3 separate regions of the Homo sapiens genome follow, and all the other regions are linked to region 2. Evidence: promoter capture Hi-C in 16 types of primary human blood cells and fetal thymus (Javierre and others, 2016). All regions are on one chromosome and are shown on one strand. Each heading gives the region's core, a stretch centred on a gene start or on the middle of the fragment in contact. The rest is flanking DNA. Distances are from core to core; before and after follow the strand shown. Region 1 holds the start of DCUN1D3 (defective in cullin neddylation 1 domain containing 3). Region 2 holds the start of USP31 (ubiquitin specific peptidase 31). Region 3 holds the start of ACSM3 (acyl-CoA synthetase medium chain family member 3).

Evidence for each region. Contacts are between HindIII fragments. The CHiCAGO score rates a contact against its expected background, and 5 or more counts as called.
Region 1: a contact is called between the fragment with the promoter of DCUN1D3 here and the fragment with the promoter of USP31 in region 2, in 6 of 17 cell types (non-activated CD4 T cells, activated CD4 T cells, total CD8 T cells and 3 more). The highest score is 13.3, in non-activated CD4 T cells.
Region 3: the fragment with the promoter of ACSM3 here is called in contact with the fragment with the promoter of USP31 in region 2 in 1 of 17 cell types (activated CD4 T cells); the score reaches 5.0 in activated CD4 T cells.

What each region holds. Positions count from the first base shown.
Region 1 is chr16:20,898,477-20,902,309 of GRCh38, forward strand. It overlaps DCUN1D3 (defective in cullin neddylation 1 domain containing 3), which reads right to left and starts at 1,882. Exons shown (of 3, transcript NM_173475.4): 1 at 1,728-1,882. LYRM1 (LYR motif containing 1) reads left to right here and starts at 2,295. Exons shown (of 4, transcript NM_001128302.3): 1 at 2,295-2,413. RefSeq lists enhancers at 1,442-1,491, 1,701-2,486, 2,487-3,272. The HindIII fragment of the contact is 5,697 bases long and covers 971-3,833 here.
Region 2 is chr16:23,147,519-23,151,139 of GRCh38, forward strand. USP31 (ubiquitin specific peptidase 31) reads right to left here and starts at 1,934. Exons shown (of 16, transcript NM_020718.4): 1 at 1,120-1,934. The coding sequence starts at 1,752. RefSeq lists silencers at 1,075-1,304, 1,435-1,534, 1,635-1,684, 1,835-1,934 and an enhancer at 2,115-2,334. The HindIII fragment of the contact is 4,661 bases long and covers 1-3,621 here.
Region 3 is chr16:20,762,310-20,765,906 of GRCh38, forward strand. It overlaps ACSM3 (acyl-CoA synthetase medium chain family member 3), which reads left to right and starts at 1,705. Exons shown (of 14, transcript NM_005622.4): 1 at 1,705-1,816. RefSeq lists an enhancer at 1,842-1,971. The HindIII fragment of the contact is 1,761 bases long and covers 1,546-3,306 here.

The sequences.
Region 1 (3,833 bases), core at 632-3,131, 2.2 Mb before region 2:
TTTGTTGAATTAATGAACTGTGAACTTTTTAGTCAATGGCAAACTAGGTTCTAAATCAGTTAAAGTGAGAACAGTAGTCATTCTTCTGTTGTATTTTTGTGAAACATCTAAACACGCTGTTACTGGTATAATCAAGCATTAAATATTCTGTTTTTTAGGGCCCGAAAGCCCTGAATAGGACTTCCTAGCATCAGATCTTCCTAGCACTATGCATATCAAGCTCAGTTACAGAAGGACAGGACTTACGGGCACTTTCTAATCAAAGGACTCCGAAAATGTAGGCACTATCTCTTAAAGTTCTTCAGAAAACAGTTTCAGATTCTACAAAAGATTTCCGAAGAATGTATCAACACCAAAAGGAAAATCATAACACTTCACTCTGATATCTGTCTGAGAGGCTAGAAGAGTGCTCCTTGATTTTTTTTAAACCAACAGCATATCAACAAAGAGGCCTTCTTTCCATTCTTTGCTTCAAATAATTTTTTCACATCCGTTATTGGTTTGTATTCGCCCTTAAACCAAAACTAAACAGATCACACTGTCTCATTTAGGACCCCCATACACAAAGAATCAGCTACGTAAAGATGAAAATCAGCACAAGCTGAACGTGTCACTGATGATTTGTGTGTCACACATAAATGGAGAAAAACATAAAAGAGCTATTGTCCAATTGTAGAAACAAAAAAGTAATATGGGGTTTTCTGTTCTCTGAAGTGCATCATGAAAAGTGGGTGGAGAGAAACACAGAAATCCAGAATTAGCCTAGCAAATCATTTTGGGAAGAGCTGACAACATGTAAATTCCTCACACATAAAGTATTTCGAGCAAGAGACCTTGATTCCTGGGCTATGATGCCATTCAGGATTCCTTGCAAAGGCTCTGGAATTCCAGTATTCATAAAAGAAAATGCTCATTATAATCGGAGCGTAAGAGGTACTCCCAACGTGACAGCCTGTATGAAGTATTACAAAGCTTACAGTTAAGATCTGGGATAGAGGCTGAACACCAAATTCAAAAGAGGTAACCAAGGCACTAAGTGCCATAAAGGAGGAAAGGGGAAGAAAAAAAAATCCACTATTGCCACTCAGCCACAGAGAATTAAAGTGGAAACCAGGGGTGTGCATGGGGGAGGATGAGGGGTGAGAAGTGCGGGGGGTGTGGTGGAGGAACAAACAATACATTTGTCACCCCGTCCCACTTCCTATAGAGGATACAGGCAAAGCCTCCAGCCTCATTACCTCGGACACAGATGGTTATCGTTTATAGCAAAGGTGCACAAAAAGGCCTTCAGGTCTGAGCCCCTTAATTCCAGGGCTGTTAATGATTAAAGAGAACGATGGGGGTGGGGAGGGAAATGAGGGCGGAGGGAGCTGGGAGATTCACCCACCACCTCCCCCTAGGGCTCCTACCTCACAGCGCTCACCCAGGACAGAGGACCAGAGTCTGCACCCCCTCCAGGGCAGCTCCAACCCCATATCCCCAGGCCCTGGGTTGAGGGGTGCTGGCGGTGGGGAGGCAGGGACAGTAGGTAAGTTTTCTGAGCCCTGCGGCTGACACGCCACAGGCTCCCCTCACAGCCTCTTCTTTCAGAGGTACCACTCCAGACAACGCGCTGACTTCCACTCCTCCCTTTCCACCCCCCTTTCTCGAAGGTACCCAACCCCCGCCCCTTCATCTCTCAATGCCCCCCCGCCTTTTCCTCAACTCCCCCCCTCCCCAAAACTCACAGCTGCTCCAGAGGTTCCTCCAGTCAAACCCTTTCTGGAAACGACGGCGGCCCGGCGGGTCCAAACCACCTACCATCCCCGCTCGCGTTTCCAGGCTCCCTACCCCCGCCGCCGCCGCCTCTTCTTCCACCACTGCCACCGCCTCCTCTTCATCTGCGGCCCACCGGCGGCGGCCGCCCCGAAGCCCCGCCCCCTCCATCGCCTCCTGCATCATCACTTCCGGTAACCCCGCCGGCCGCCAGCTCCAGGAGGGAGAATGGGAGAGGGGCAAGGAGGGAACGAGTGGAAGATTGCGTCACGACGCACATAAAGACGTACGAAGCCGTCGCCAAGTAAGGGCAAAGACCTAGCAACCCGGAGGGAGCTGGGCTGGACCATTTTTTTTTCTTGTTTTACGGGAATGGAGCGGGGAGGATAATGAAAGCGTAAAGGAAAAATAGGGGGAGGAGGAGCTCAGCTTATTGTTGGATGCGGCGGGAGATGGGTAGAGTCAGTCAGTCGAGACTCCCCCAGACCTGGAACTGGTGCTCCCACAGAGGTGGGCCCGGTGGTTTGGTCCGGCCTGGCCTACTGGACCAGCCTGTGCTCGGTCGGCCACGGCTCTGCTGGGCTCCTGGCGCCGCCTCCTCCCAGCCCGCCGCGGGCTGCGCGCTTCTGTGGGTGGGGGAAGGCAGGACTGACGCAGAGTGAGTGTAGGGGATGGAGGCGCCGACTCCAGGCGCGGGAGACTGGCGGGGAAGGGGTTGGCTCCCCACGGGCAGGGATGGTTTGGAGGTTGGGCTGCGGCGTTGCCGGGAGACGGGCCTGTGTGACCCCAGCTTCGCGGGGGCGGCTCGGTGTCATCGCCACCGGCCTCGGGGACCTGCCTCACGGAAGTGGCTCGCGCGTCCAAGAGGGGAGGCCTGGTGTGGGGACGCTCAGGTGCCGGCGTGGGGCCCCCTCGGAGGCTGTGAATCTTTTGGACCCCCGAATGTAAATGGGAGATGGTAGGGGCCGGTCCGGGGGCGAGAGGTGTCTGGCTGGGGAACGTTGACCCACACCAGGTCCCGTACAGGAACGGAGACTCCCTAGGACCGTGAGAGCCAGCTTCGTAATTCTCTTGCTCTTCAAACCTGAGAGTAGGGTGTTGCTCCGTTACCTTCCATTCGTGTGCAGGAGAGAGTTAAGTAAATCAATAAAGAAGGTATCAGCAAGTGAGAAATGCCCCCCAAAGACCGGATGAGGTGACAGAAGATGGGGGGAGGGCCCCTCGAAATCGGGTAAGGTCGTTCAAAGGAGGCCACGGTTTTGCGGGGATCCGAGACAATGGGTTTTCTGGGTGGAGAGAAGAGCCAATGAGAAGGACTTTTAGGTTGGAAACAGCCAGAAGGCCATGTGGCTGAAGCAAACAGAGCCAGGGCCGGAGTGCCCTGTGATGTAGTTGGGGAAGTGGCATGACTGTAGCAGCGCCTTTTAGCCCAAGGCAGGGGTTTGGCTAATGTGTACCTTAAGGGTTTTAAGAAGGGAAGTGACCTGACCTGATTTACATTTTTAAAAATCCGCTCTGCCTGCTGGATAGAGAAGGGTGGAAGTAGTTAGACCTGTTAGGAGACTGTTGCACTGTAAGACAAAGGAGAGGTGAAGATAGTGTTGAAAGGGCCGGCCGGGCGCGGTGGCTCACGCCTATAAACCCAGTACTTTGGGAGGCCTAGGCGGGCGGATCACGAGGTCAGGAGATCGAGATCATCCTGGCCAACATGGTGAAACCCCATCTCTACTAAAAATACAAAAATCAGCTGGGCGTAGTGGCACGCGCCTGTAATCTCTGCTACTCAGGAGAATCGCTTGAACCCGGGAGGTGGAGGTTGCAGTGAGCCAAGATCGCGCCACTTCACTCCAGCCTGGGCAACGGAGTGAGACTCCGTCTTAAGAAAAAAGAAAAGGCCCTCAGTCACAGTGGAAATGGAGAGAATTCCATTCAGCATATATTTGGGAGGTAGTGCTTGCAGGACTTGCTGGGGAATTGGATGTGAAGTGTGTAGGAGAGGGAGGAACCAAGGTTAACTCCCTACGGGAAAACAGTTTAGAAAGGAATATCGAAAGTTCTCTTTTGAACATATTAAGTTT
Region 2 (3,621 bases), core at 684-3,183:
ATCCTAAATGGTCCCATACCATCCGGTCCCAGCCCACCACTCGGCTCTCAAATCTCACCCTCTCACTACACTTGCAGCCCCACCAGCAAACAGCAAAGGAGGGCTTGGCCAAGGGCCATACATACCCCCAGGGATGTATAGCTCACCCCTGTAATCCCAGCACTTTGGGAGGCCAAAGCGGGGAGAGTGGCTTGAGGACAAGAGTTCAAGACCAGTCTGGGCAACACAGCAAAACCCCCGTCTCTACAAAAGTGTTTTAAAAATAAAAAATAGGTAGGTATGGTGGTGTGTGTCTGTAGTCCCAGCTATTAAATACTCTGGAAGGTGAGGCGGGAGGATTGCTTGAGCCCAGGAGTTTGAGGCTATGTGAGCACTGCACTCCAGCCTGGGCAACAGAGCAAGACCCTGTCTCTAAAAATAAAATAAAAATAAAAAGTAGCCTGTCAGCACATCAATCACAGCAGCAGGTTTTTCTTTCTTCAAACCACTATCTGATATTATCTCGTTAACTTCTTCAAGTCTTTAATAACAAAAATAATAGCAGCAAATACACATGATATGGAAGTATTTTACTTATCAGGTTGAACCCTATAAAAGTGCCAATCTGTAAATAAAAAACGGTTAAATATGGGTAATTCCACAGTGTTCGATTTAATATATTAACTTGTTTGCAGCTCACAACCACCTTACAAAGTAGGTCCCCCAGATGAAGAAACTGTAAGAACAGAGAGGCTGCTTAACTTACCCGACGTCACATTGCTAGTAAGTGGCAGAACCAGGATTTGAACCCATGCTCAACACTCCCACCCCACAAAAATGCAAGTTCCATGAAGGCGGATAGTCTTGTTCATTGCAACGTCACTCCCATTGCCTATTATCACAGAGTATGGGCACGTATGTAGTAAGTTCTCAATAAATACATGTTTGAGTGAGTGAGTGAGTGAATAAATGAATGAATGAATGAATCTCCTTAAAATCACTGGTCGACTGCCCAGACCACTCGGAGCAACCAATGCAGAAGCCTGCCGGGCCAAGAGGAACCGAGGGAAGGAAGACCTGGGCGGGCAGGTGCCCCAGGGGCTCGGGGTGCAGTGGGGGCGCGGCGGCGCGCGGGCTCACCTTGAAGTCGCGGCTGTGCTGCGGGGTGTACTCCAGGGTCCAGAGGGCCCGCACCAGGTGCGCCAGCTGCTCAGTGACCTCGCCCTGGCCCTGCGCGCCGCGGCCCGCAGGCTGCTCCGGGTCAGGCGAGGGCTCGGGCCGCCCCGCCCGGTACTGGCCCAGCGCCAGGTACTCGGCGAAGAGCTCGGTGTTGCTGAGGCACTGCAGCGTGGCGTTCATGAAGCACGTGTTGCCGTGGTTGCGGAGCCCCGCCACGCCGGGCACCGGCTCGGCGGCGCAAGCGGGCGGCGCGGGAGAGGCGGGCGGCGGCGGGCACGGCGGCGGCGTGGGCGCGGCGGCCGGCCCGGGCGGGAAGCAGCTGCGGAGGCCGCCGCGGTCTGGGGCGGCGCCCTCAGAGCTAAGGTGCGAGAGCGTGGACAGCGTCTTGAGAACGCGGCTCATGAAGCTGCCCACCGAGCGTGCAGAGGAGGGCGAGGAGGGCGAGGAAGGCGCGGCCGGCCCGGACGCCCCGGGGCCCCCCGCGCCGCCGCCGCCAGCGCGGCCGCTCCGAAACAGCCGCTTGCTGAAGGAGCGCTTCTCCTTCCCGCTCGCCGCCGCCGGCGGCCCGGACCCAGGCGCCGTTACCTTGGACATGGCGGCGGCCGCAGACACTCATCACCGCGCCCGCCCGCCCGGCCCGCGGCCCCGCCACGGCCGCCGCCGCATCCCGCAGCGCCGCGCCTCACCGGGCCCGGGGGCTCGACGCCCCACACACCTCAAAGCGCAGCCGAGCCAGCGAGCGAGCGGCGGCCGGCGGGGCCAGCGGGCGCGCGCGCGGTCCGCCCAGCTGAGCCGCTCACGTGACGTGCCTCCCGGCGCCGCCCGCCCGGCGCTGAAGCCGCCTCGGCCGCCATGTTCACTGTGGGACGGTAGCTGCCTCTCCAGCCGGACGCGATGCCTGGAGGCTGCGGGCGCGGTCCTGCTGCGTGAAGCCCGAGGGAGGCCATGTCTAGTGTGGGCGCCGTCCCGGCTTGGAGGAAAAGGCTGGGCTCCCGTTGGATGGTGGATCCCCGGGGTGGGTCTCTGTCTTTGCTGGTCAGATGGCAGAGGCGGGAACGTGCAGGAATCAGGATGCTGTCAGTTACCAGACCGTGCAAGAGCTGGTGGACATGGCCCTGACAGGTCCTGGGCAAGTCAGCCCTGTCTGGCTCCCAAGGGACGTTGCAGATACCTACCCTCTGGGTGCCAGCGGAGCGCAGTCACAGACCCTGGCACGTCCCAGCGGGCTTTTCTTCCTGGCTGCACCTTGGAGTCCCAGCGAAACGCTGTTATCATAACTACTTTCCTTTTCATTCCAGCCTTTAAAACTCCTCCGGGCTCTCCCATCATTCATCATTCCATTCATTCATTCACTCACTCATTCATTCAGCAGTTACTGGGGATATTGCAAAGAATTAAACCTATTAAATTAGAATCAAATGTCATATCCCCAGCGGATTAAATTAGCACGGTTTCTACCTGCCCTCTTGCAGCTTACATTCCTACTGGGTGTTTACAATAGCTGTTGTGTTCCACACATTATGCCAAGCATGCAATATTTTCTTTAATCTTTAATTCACCGTCTTTGAGATTGGTACAGTTCTTATCTGATTCAAACCCAAGTTTTATTTACAACCCCTATACTTGACCTCTAAACCAAAGGTCACGAATCCACAAATATCACAGGTCACAAACCCACAAATGAGTGAAGAATCCTGGTGTTTGAATCATCATATTGACTTTCAAGTGACTTGGGTCTCAGTGTTGGGGGAAATATAAGGAATGATGGGGACTATAGCAGACTTCAAATTAACATCTTTCTAAAGAGGTGGCTGCCACTCAGCTCCAGCCAGTTGTTCCCATGTGAGAACAGGAGCTCAGCGTTACCAGATCATCTGATGTTTTAAGAGAAGGCAGAAATCCTATTTTTAAACGTTGGTTCCATTAAAAAAAAAATAGTGCAGGGAGCAAAAAATAGTACATCTTTGGGATGCCTTTAGTCCAAAATCAACTAGTATATGACCTCCTCTCTATAGGCTCCCCTCTGCTAAAAGGGCTAGTCTGAGTCCTGAGGCAGAAGAGAGAAATCAGAGAAGGGAGAGCCCTTCCTCCTTTTTAAAACATGAAGGCCACCTTACACCACGTTTCAAAGTAAATGGTTTTTACCTTTGACCTCCCTCCCCAATGTAAGTAGGGCTCTATGATGACATCTCCAGGGTGCTCTGCACTGTCCCTAATCGGCTCCACTCTCCTCTTAGTCAAAATTCTTATCTGGACACCAGGAAGAAAGCCATCTGATTATTCACACTAAAATGTGAATGCAATGGCCCTCAACTTCTGGGCAGTTTGATCTAGACTCGAGGGCCTTTGCTGGAGCCGTTCCCTCTCCCTTGAACCTTTCCTTAGCTAACTTAGAACCTTTCTACTTAGCTAACTTCCCCTCATCCTTAAAGTCCCACCTTAGATATCACCCCCTCCAGGAGA
Region 3 (3,597 bases), core at 455-2,954, 2.4 Mb before region 2:
GCTTAACATCAGAATAGAAATAATAGAAGAAAAAAATCAAAGAACTGGAAGCCAGAATTTACTCAACCTGAACAAAAGAAAGAAACTAGAATGGGAAAAAAAAGAAAAAAAAGAACAGAGCCTCAGGGACCTGTGAAACTATCATAAAAGATCTAACATGGGGGCTAAAAATTTACTCCAAGAAATAATAGCTGAAAAGTTCTCAAATTTGTCAAGAGACATAACTATAGAATTCAGCAATACAGAAAAAGAAATATACAACAGGACCAAGCAAGGTTTATTCCAGGGAGGCAAGGCTGGTTCAATATTAGAAGATCAGTGTAATCTATCTTATTAACAGGCTAAAGAAGAAAAACACCACATGCTTATAGTAACTGATGCAGAAAAAACACTTGCCAAAATTCAACACCTATTCATGATAAAAACACTCAGAAAAAAATAGAAATAGAGGAGAATTTCCTCAACTTGATAAAGGGCATCTACACAAAACCTACTACTAATATTGTACCTAACCATGAAAGACTGAATGTTTTCCCTCTAAGATCAAAAGCAAGGCAAGGATGTCTGCTCTCATCACTCTTATTCAACGTAGAGCTAGACACTCTAGCCTGCGCAATAAGGCAAGAAAAGGAAATAAAACGCATATAGATCTGAAAGAAAGAAGTAAGATCTGTTTACTTATTTACAGGTAATGTGATTACACAGAAAATCCCAAGGAATCAACAACAAAAGACTCCTAGAACTCAAAAGTGACCAACAAATTCCTCTTTAAGTAAAGTTGGGTCTCTCACATGTAATTGAAAGAGTCCTTTATTTATTCACATATCCATCAACTATTTATTGAATGCCTAAAATTTGCCAGTAGCTATTCCAGGCAATAGATACACCATCAAACAAAAAGAGTTCTTACCCTCAAGGGTGATAGTAAGAGATGTAAAAAGTTAAAAAATGGTAAAAGAGAAAAAATGAAGAGTGCTACTTTAGAAAATGAGGTAAGGGAAGAGTTATTTAATAAGACACCTCAGAAAATGAGGAATTTGGCCAGGGGGATATCTGAGGAAAGAGTTCCAGTCAGTGGAAACTGTGAATTCAGAAAGCCTGAGGCTGAAACAGGCAAGTGTGTTTGAGAAAAAGCAAGGAGGCCGGTGGCTGTGCAGAGTGAGGCAGAGGAAGGAGAATGGGCTGTGGATCAGAGGACCCTGTGCCAGATCATACAACTCCTTGCAGTTCATGTAAGGACTCGGATTTTACCTGGAGTGGAAAAAGAAGCACTGAAAGATTTGAGCAGGGGAGTAACCTGATAGCGTTTATGTTTAGTCCTGCCACTTCGACAGATAAACGCACCAATGGGCTTGATGAGATTTAGGCCAACCCATAACCGCCCCTCAACTTCTTTCCTTTCAATTTCAAAACTCCTCTATGGCTTCCTCCATCTGTTCTTCCTTCTGAGAAGTGCTCTCTCTGCCCCTTTACAGAACTAACCACTTCGGCAACTCCTTGGACACTTTCCTTCTTGTTAATAATTTGCTTTCTCCGCCCCTCAAAAGCTTGCTGTTTCTGTAAATCATTACCTGTAAGAGGAACCGCTGGGAGTCCTGTAAACTTTAGCCCAGAGCTTGGCTCCTCCTCCAGAATGTCTCCACCAATCAAGGAAAGTGTTTTGGGCCAGTCTTGCTCCTCCGGATTGTCAGACTGCTCCTCCCTCTTCTTTAGACTGCCACGAGGAAAAAGCAGATGTGAGAACTCAAGGTTCAGGGCTGCTCTTCTAAGAAACAAGTCTGCCATAATCTCCATCTGTGTTGGAATCTGTTAACTAGTGAGTACCTCATCTCCCCTCCTGTGTAAGATTTCCTGAACTGGCACATCTGTTTTTTGAGCAAAGATAACAAACAGATGAACAAAACCAACAATCAAAAATGCTGTCATTAAAGTCTTGGGCAGCCAAAGTTTCTCTCAGAATTTCTCAGTTGTGTGATACTATCTATTAAGTGATGAGGAGTATGCACACACAAAAGGCTATAAATGTAGCAGCTGAGTTTTCATGTTGAGCCTTTTGGTGCTATTTGATTTTTTGAAAAACTATGTACATGTATTAAGTTGATAAATTTTTTTTTTAATTTTAATTGAACCAGATGCGGTGGCTCAAGCCTGTAATCCCACCACTTTAGGAGGCTATGGTGGGCAGATGCAGATCACTTGAGGCCAGGAGTTCGAGACCAGCTTGGCCAACATGGTGAAACCCTATCTCTACTGAAAATAAAAAATTAGCCAGGTGTGGTGGCAGGTGCCTGTAACCCCAGCTACTTGGGAGCCTGAGGCAGTAGAGTCACTTGAACCTGGGAGGTGGAGTTTGCAGTAAGCTGAGATTGCATCACTGCACTCCAGCCTGGGTGACAGAACAAGACTCCATCTCAAAAAAAAGACCAGGTAGTGGCTGAGATTTTCATTGTACTGTCTGCTTAGCTCCCCACCTTGCTCAGTGACAGATGGGAATCCATCTTCTGCATCATCCAGAAAGTATGTAAATTACTTCCAGGAAACTTTGGGAAACACAGATGCAAACCTAAGAGCAGCCAGTTTTCTCCTTTAGGTGGTCAAGGGCAGCTGCAAAAGTTCTGTATAGGAGGGGCTTCAGGCAGGGTCTGGTTGGGTTTGGAGACAACAGCAGTGAATTTACCTTGCGTTGAGGCTGTATATGTTAAACTACTGTTATTACTTGGATACTTAGAGGGAGGGATGTTTAGGGAGCTGTGGGGAGGCTAAAGCCCCCTTGGCTGTAGGGACAAAGAGCTTGCATTTCAGATGAGACCTTAAATACTTTCAGAAGCCTATCTGACCAGGGGTGGTACTGTCTTTCTTAGAAGAGTTTTCCTTACCAATGTTTCTGTGGCTCAGTATAAAAATCTGGAGTCACCCTGGGAAAGTTATCTCAGCAATTTTACCTACAAATAATTTTATAAACCTGGGAAATAGAAGTTGTAAAATGCTAAGATCGATGAAAAGGGAGGAAAAGAACTTTGTTGAGGAGAAGGTAATCTTATGGTTTTGATGAAGAGGATGTCGATATTTGCTTTTTGGTAGAACAGAATGGTTAGGTTCATTTTAAGCTCCAAATGACTGATCAATTTTCTTTTCAACATACGTTTGAAGGATTCTGAATGTGGTGTAGAGTATTGTATGGGAGCTAGGGAACAAATCATACTAAACTCTGATTCTATTCAGAATCAGCAAGCTAAGTATGATATATTTATCTCCAATCATATTAATATTTACATAATTATTTAATGTCTTCCTTAATAGTCTATAAGCTTCATGGGAGCAAGACCAGCCGTGTCTTGTTCACAGCTATATTTTCAGCATTTAGTACAGGTCTGGCATATACCAAGTGTTCAATAAATACACGGGTAATGAATAAATGCGTTGTCCAATTTAAATATGTGTGTCTGTTTGTGTATACTTCCTTGTCTGTAAAATGAAAATACTAATAAATAACTGCAAAATGCTTAACAGTACAACCACTTGCCAGATCTCAGCAAAAATGTTACGTCCCTAGAGAGACCTCCTAAAAGGTCCCTTTTCTCCCATTACTCTCTTTGT